Regions from separate parts of the Homo sapiens genome. Here region 2 is linked to region 1. Evidence: promoter capture Hi-C in human tissues and cell types (Jung and others, 2019). All regions are on one chromosome and are shown on one strand. The core of a region is centred on a gene start or on the middle of the fragment in contact, and the rest is flanking DNA. Distances in the headings are between cores, read along the strand shown.

Evidence for each region. The method cuts DNA at HindIII sites, captures the fragments that hold promoters and counts their contacts. A contact is called where the count stands out against the background at its distance.
Region 2: a fragment that was not itself captured here is called in contact with the fragment with the promoter of CDK3 in region 1 in 1 of the 25 tissues and cell types used here (stomach).

What each region holds. Positions count from the first base shown.
Region 1 is chr17:75,999,215-76,002,753 of GRCh38, forward strand. CDK3 (cyclin dependent kinase 3) reads left to right here and starts at 1,641. Exons shown (of 8, transcript NM_001258.4): 1 at 1,641-1,753; 2 at 2,198-2,327; 3 at 2,660-2,737; 4 at 2,808-2,928; 5 at 3,034-3,204; 6 at 3,297-3,398. The coding sequence starts at 2,212. TEN1 (TEN1 subunit of CST complex) reads left to right here. Exons shown (of 4, transcript NM_001113324.3): 4 at 927-1,372. The coding sequence ends at 1,048. TEN1-CDK3 (TEN1-CDK3 readthrough (NMD candidate)) reads left to right here. Exons shown (of 10, transcript NR_037709.1): 4 at 927-2,327; 5 at 2,660-2,737; 6 at 2,808-2,928; 7 at 3,034-3,204; 8 at 3,297-3,398. It overlaps LOC124904061 (a long non-coding RNA gene), which reads right to left and starts at 1,346. Exons shown (of 2, transcript XR_007065911.1): 1 at 591-1,346; 2 at 1-422. RefSeq lists an enhancer at 1,268-1,317 and a silencer at 1,448-1,527. The HindIII fragment of the contact is 30,775 bases long and covers 1-3,539 here.
Region 2 is chr17:76,705,173-76,708,592 of GRCh38, forward strand. All of the region lies in intron 1 of MXRA7 (matrix remodeling associated 7), which reads right to left. Among named protein-coding and RNA genes, the nearest start is that of MXRA7, 4.1 kb to the right of the region's middle. The HindIII fragment of the contact is 4,690 bases long and covers 1-3,420 here.

The DNA of each region.
Region 1 (3,539 bases), core at 391-2,890:
GCGTCCCTGTAGTCCCAGCTCCTCAGGAAGCTGAGATGATCACCTGAGCCTGGGAGGTGGAGGCTACATTGAGCCATGATTGAGCCACTGCATTCCAGCCCAAGTGACAGAGCAACACCCTGTCTCAAAAAAAAAATTTTTTTTTTTAGGTGGAGTCTTGCTCTGTTGCCCAGGCTGGAGTGCAGTGGCGTGATCTTGGCTCACTGCAACCTCCACCTCCTGGGTTCAAGCAATTCTCCTGCCTCAGCCTTCCAAGTAGCTGGGATTACAGGCATGCACCACTACACGCGGCTAATTTTTGTATTTTTAGTAGAGATGGGGTTTCATCATGTTGGCCAGGCTGGTCTTGAACTCCTGACCTCAAGTGTTCCACATGCCTTGGCCTCCCAAAGTGCTGAGATTACAGGTGTGAGCCAGTTCACCTGTCAAAAGAAAGAAAATTTTTAAAAAGTCTCTCGGAGATGTCTTTCCTGTTTGGTGCCACCTGAATAGTGGCAAACCTTTCCATTATGTATCAGGTCACCACCGCATCTGCTAGAAGCCCCCCTCGTCCAGGGTGGGATGACCTGCTCCTATAAAGCCAAACTTACCGGGAGCTCAGTCTCTTGGATTTTTAAAATATGGGTGTCTCTTTTCCCCGGTTCCTGATGACATTGTGTCCCAAGGTGCCAAGGGGGCCTTTCCCTCAGTCCAGAGGGGTTTTCTGACCACCTGCTAAGTTCCAGACACGGGCCGACTGTGCATGACAGGCCCACGGTTCTAGGCCCAAATACTCAGTTGCCTTTGCCCCATATGCTGTTATTGTCCACATCACTTGCTGCCAAAACCCAGGACTGAGCTGTGGAGGGAACAGCTGGAATGCACCTTGGAGGACGTTGTTGACACGCCGCTCAGTCGCCGTTCGTGCCCTGGTGTTTGTCTTGCAGACAGAGGCTCCGTGGTGAAGGCGCGCGTGCTGACCTGTGTGGAGGGGATGAACCTGCCCTTGTTGGAACAAGCCATCCGGGAGCAGAGACTGTACAAGCAGGAGCGGGGCGGCAGCCAGTAGGAAACAGCAGCCTAGCAACACCCTCACCTGCTTCAGAGCCCGAACCCTCTGGAGCTGCAGGAGCCCGGGAGAGCACAGACGCCTCCCCAGCGACGGCCTTGTCTGGAGCTCGAAAGCCGAGGGGCGGGTGATGAATCCAGCCCCTTCCCCTACTTTGGGATTGGCTCAGCAATGAGAACCCAGAAAGCATGCCATAAATCCGACAGCCCCACCCCAGGAGACTGCAGGTGGCCGAGCTTGGGCGCCGGGGCCGTGCTTGGTGTGGGGCCATGGAGGGTTCCAGAAGGTCCTGGTGAATAAAGGCCCAGGGGGCGTGCTCTTGAAGTGTGCTCGTGGTGCAGCGCCGGCGGGGGCCAGGAGGGGGAGCTGCAACCCAGGCTGTGGGCTGCAGCCTCTCAGGGCTTCTGGTGAATTCTGGGCCTGGGGCCTCAGGGTAGGGCACCAGGGGCCCAGGGGCTGGGGTGGGGGGCCCAGGATGCAGGGGTCTGCCCCTGGCCAGGCTCTGCCTTCAGAGGAGGCTGAGCGTCGTCACACGGGCCGGGCTGAGGCCCTGGGCCCTGACCGTGCAGCCTAAGACAGGACTGTGGCTTTAAGACCCTCCTGACCCCTGACCTCTGCCCCCAGTGGCCCTGGCCCCTGGGCAGCCCTTCCTGGCCGCCATGTGTACCCAGAGCCTGGGACTGGCTGGGCTGGGCAGTGACCCAGGTGGGAAAGGGTGGTCTTGCCCTCTAAGGCCCGGCACAAGTGAGAGGCCTGGGGGTCCATGTTGGGCTGGGCTGGGCGAGGGGTGGTCTCTGACTTCCTGGGGGTTCTGGCTGGGATGGGCAGGGGGCTGGGTGGGAGAGTGTGGGCCCTGCCCTCCGAGGCCGGGCATGGGCGAGAAGCCTGGGGGTCCTGGCTGAACTGGGCTGGGTGAAGGGGGCCCCCTGACCCCCTTGGGGTCCGGGCTGGGCTGGGTGAGGGGCGGTTTCCGACCCCCAGCCAGGTTCCCAGGCAGGATGAGCTGGGGTTGGGGTGGCTAGGCCGTGGGCCTTGGGAGCTGGGCAGTCTGGGCTGGGCTGGGCTGGGCAGGGCGCCACATGGAAGCTGGAGGAGCAACGGGAGCGCTGGGCGTGGGGTGCAAATTGCCCGGTGCCTTCTGTTTCCCAGGCAGCTCTGTGGCCATGGATATGTTCCAGAAGGTAGAGAAGATCGGAGAGGGCACCTATGGGGTGGTGTACAAGGCCAAGAACAGGGAGACAGGGCAGCTGGTGGCCCTGAAGAAGATCAGACTGGATTTGTGAGTGCTGGGACGGCCCCTGAGTTACCCACCCTGGGCCATCACAACCTGGGCGCTCCCTGATCCGTTCCCTCTTTCCTGGAGTCCACGTTTAACTCCTCTGGGTGCTGCCCAGCAGCCCTTACCTGTCCTCTCCCCAGTTCACTGCCTTCTGACCAGCCTTTGCCGGGGCCCTGACTGTGGAGTTTGGTGGATGACGTGCCAAGGAGCACAGGTCTCCATTGCCGGGGCCCTGGTCATTCTGTGGGGTTAAGGAGAAGCCGATCCCCCTGGCTGGAAGTGCCCTTCTTGGCCCAAGTCTCTGCCCACGGCTGTGCCCTTGTTTCTTGCAGGGAGATGGAGGGGGTCCCAAGCACTGCCATCAGGGAGATCTCGCTGCTCAAGGAACTGAAGCACCCCAACATCGTCCGGTGAGTTGGGGATTGAGGTGGGGAAGCTGGGATGGCGAAGGTAGCATCCTGACTGCCATCTCCCTGTCAGACTGCTGGACGTGGTGCACAACGAGAGGAAGCTCTATCTGGTGTTTGAGTTCCTCAGCCAGGACCTGAAGAAGTACATGGACTCCACCCCAGGCTCAGAGCTCCCCCTGCACCTCATCAAGGTAGGGAAGGAAGGGCAGGGAAGGAGAGGTGACACCCCATCCCTGCCATCCCTGTCCACGCAGCACCTCCGCTCAGCTGGCTGCACCTCGCGCTCGTTTCTCCAGAGCTACCTCTTCCAGCTGCTGCAGGGGGTGAGTTTCTGCCACTCACATCGGGTCATCCACCGAGACCTGAAGCCCCAGAACCTGCTCATCAATGAGTTGGGTGCCATCAAGCTGGCTGACTTCGGCCTGGCTCGCGCCTTCGGGGTGCCCCTGCGCACCTACACCCATGAGGTATTGTGAGACAAAGAGGAGAGAGGGGCAGCAGGAGGAGTGTCACCCATGCACTCAGCCACCCTGAGTGATACTGTTTCTTTGCCCTGCAGGTGGTGACACTGTGGTATCGCGCCCCCGAGATTCTCTTGGGCAGCAAGTTCTATACCACAGCTGTGGATATCTGGAGCATTGGTTGCATCTTTGCAGAGATGGTAGAGAGAGGGGCACACATGGCCACAGGGTGCCACAGGCAGGGTCCTACTGGGGTTGGGTGGGGTCCACTGATGCTCCCATTCGAGGCGGATTAAAGAGTGTTTGGGGCTGGACATGGCTCACGCCCGTAATCCCAGCAC
Region 2 (3,420 bases), core at 441-2,940, 710 kb after region 1:
ACATTAGTCTGTAACCAAGGCTCTTTCTCTCTGAAAGAACAAAGTTTATCTATTAGGAAAGCCCCTGGACTTCTTTCATATATGGAAAAAAATTAAGTTAGGCACTCAAACAACTTTACAAAAAAATACCCACTGGAACTACTGAACAGGGAACTCTACTTACAGCCCTCCAAGGCATCTTCTATTCAGTTGCTCTATATCGTTATAGTTATTGTGAATACAATATTTTATGTTCTACCTTTTTACTTATTTCATACTAATTTGCTAATGAATCCAATGTGCTAATTAATGAACATTTGGATTATTTCTAGTTTTTTCCCCAGTAAGTCACTGGGCCTGTTCTGGACTAAATATTTGTGTCCCCTGCAAATCTATCTGTTGAAGTCTTAACCCCCAGTGTGATGGTATCTGGAGGTGGGGGTCTTTGGGAGGTGAGATTTAGACGAGGTCACGATGGTGGAGTCCCTACAATGCTATGAGGGCCCTGATAAGAAGAGGAAGAGACATCCCTCTCTCTCTGGCATGTGAAAGTACAGCAAGAAGGTGGCTGTCTGCAGGCCAAAAAGAGAGCCCTCACCAAAACCAGAATCTGCCAACACCTCCATCTTGGACTTCCCAGCCTCCAAAAGTGTAGGAAATAATGCCTGTTGTTTAAGCAACCCAGTCTGTGGTATTTTGATATATCAGCCTAAGCTGCTTAAAGACAAGGACCTAAAGTGATATAAACAACTGGCAAATATCTACTTGGCCCTCCACTACTTGGCTTCTGAGATTTTGCTAAGAGAACAGAAAGTAGGACCACACTGCCATCACAAAGGCCCACACTGCCATCACAGAGGACCACACTGCCATCACGAAGGCCCACTCTGCTATCACAAAGGACCACACTGCCATCACAGAGGACCACACTGCCATCACAAAGGCCCACGCTGCCATCACAAAGGCCCACGCTGCCATCACAAAGGACCACACTGCCGTCACAGAGGCCCACGCTGCCGTCACAGAGGCCCACGCTGCCATCACAGAGGCCCACGCTGCCATCACAAAGGCCCACTCTGCCGTCACAGAGGCCCACTCTGCCATCACAGAGGCCCACGCTGCCGTCACAGAGGCCCACGCTGCCGTCACAGAGGCCCACGCTGCCATCACAAAGGACCACGCTGCCATCACAGAGGCCCACTCTGCCATCACAGAGGCCCACGCTGCCGTCACAGAGGCCCACGCTGCCGTCACAGAGGCCCACACTGCCATCACAAAGGACCACACTGCCATCAAAAAGGACCACACTGCCATCAAAAAGGACCACACTGCCATCAAAAAGGACCACACTGCCATCACAAAGGCAGGAGAGATGATGGGGAAGTTCACCTGCTCCTGGGTCATTCTGGGAAGGCTGGGGTCTCTGTAGCTTCCAGAGCCCACACCTATGGTGAACAGGTTGGTGAGGGCAGAGGACACAGGTGGACCTGACAGCAGGGTGACTTCAGGGGAACCAGGGCCAAGTCACATGGTTAAGACAGACAGATGAAGGCTGTGCTACCCACTCAGACCACCACCTCCAGAGTGTCTGAAAAACCAACCCCTTTCCCAAGAAATTTCCCAAAGAAGAATGTTGGCTTCTTTGTTCCAACATTCTCTTTTGAAAAATTCCAAACCTACAGAAAAGTTGAAATAATAATACAATGAATACCATACACCCTTCACCTAGATTCACCAATGGTTAACATTTTGCCATCTTTGCATTCTCTCTCTATACACACACACACTGTGTGTGTGTGTGCATGTAACTATTTGAATCATGACATGTCATCCCAAAATGTTTCAGCCTGCATCTTCCTAAGGATAAGGACATTGTTTACACAGCCATCTGCCGGTATCGTACACAAAAAATTCAGCGTTGATTCAATAAGCTTACCTAACACAGCCATTCATTTAAAAAATGTCTCAATTATCTCCAGTATGTCCTTTATAGCTCCCTTCTCTGATGGAGAATCCAATCAAGGATCAAGATTGTATTTATTTGTCATATTGCTTTAATCTCCTAAATCCCAATTAAATCTAGAAGAGTCTCTGTGTGCTTCATGACACCGGCCCACTGCCTTGCAGGAAGTCCCTACTCTTTTTTTTTTTTTTTTTTTTTTTTTTTTTTTGAGATGGAGTCTCGTTCTGTTGCCCAGGCTGAAGTGCAGTGGCACGATCTTGGCTCAACTGCAACCTCAGCCTCCTGGGTTCAAGTGATTCTCCTGCCTCAGTTTCCTGAGTAGATGGGATGACGTGCACGCCACCATGCCTGGCTAATTTCTGTATTTTTAGTAGAGACGGGGTTTCGCCATGTTGGCCAGGTTGGTCTCGAACTCCTGACCTCAGGTGATCCTCCTGCCTCGGCCTCCCAAAGTGCTGGGATTACAGGTGTGAGCCATCGCGCCCGGGCTCTAGTCTGTCTATGAGCAGAGCTAGGCCCCAAGTACCGAGATACTTGAGTCCTGGCACAGACAAGAAATTTAACTCTAGTGCTATTCAAATGACCCTTGACGCTTTGCCAATTACCAATGTTTGGGAATCCGACCATCCAGCCTTGCTCCAATCCACAAGTCCATTAGGTAAGAGGCCTGGCAATCCTAAAACCCCAACCTACACAGGAGCACCAAGAAAGCCCTGAGTCCTGGCCTGAAAAGAGGCCGGCTCCTGTTCTTGACTTCGTTGGCTCATGATTCTTTGCGTGAACAGGCCTTGCCTATAATGCTTCCTCACAGCCCACCCTGTGCTAATCCTTAGGAGAGAAAAGAGGTTCTAGCAGTATCATTCCGCTTCTCCTCAGCCTCCCTGCCCTGGCCTGTGCTGCCCTGGGGAAGCAAGAGCTGCACTGATCTCATCCCCATTTCTTTGGTCCATTTCCAGGGTCTCGGCCTATAGTAGCCCCTCCCCACTACTTTGTCCTTGGCCAAAGAGGGCACCGTGCACTAGGGGACGCTCCTGAGCGATCCCCAATAGCAGCTGAAGGCTGCTTCCCGGGGCGAGAGATCCTTCTCAATAATCAGCTTTGTAGTCAGAGGCAGCAGCTGCCCCAGCCCGCCCAGGCCTCCCTGGGAAGGGAGAGGACTGGATTAGAAAGGAGGCAGTTAATGGAAAATGAAGAGGGAGGGGAGAGGTGAGTTACACGCTGCTCCCCAGGGCAGTGACTTCCGAGCTAACAGCAGGTGGAGTTGCCCTCCTCCCTCGCTGTTGGTGGGGTTCGCTTAGGGACGGAGGGAGAAGGAGGCTGGCAGAGGGCATAGCCCCACTTCCCAACCCTGATTTGAGTTATCTTCCCCAGGGGGCCTTTCTCCCTATCTGTCCTCCAAGCCCCAGCAGTGTGATCATCAGAAGAAAGCACTGGAAGCTCTTGGAAACGCTGGAGTCCACTTCAGGACAATTTGTTTT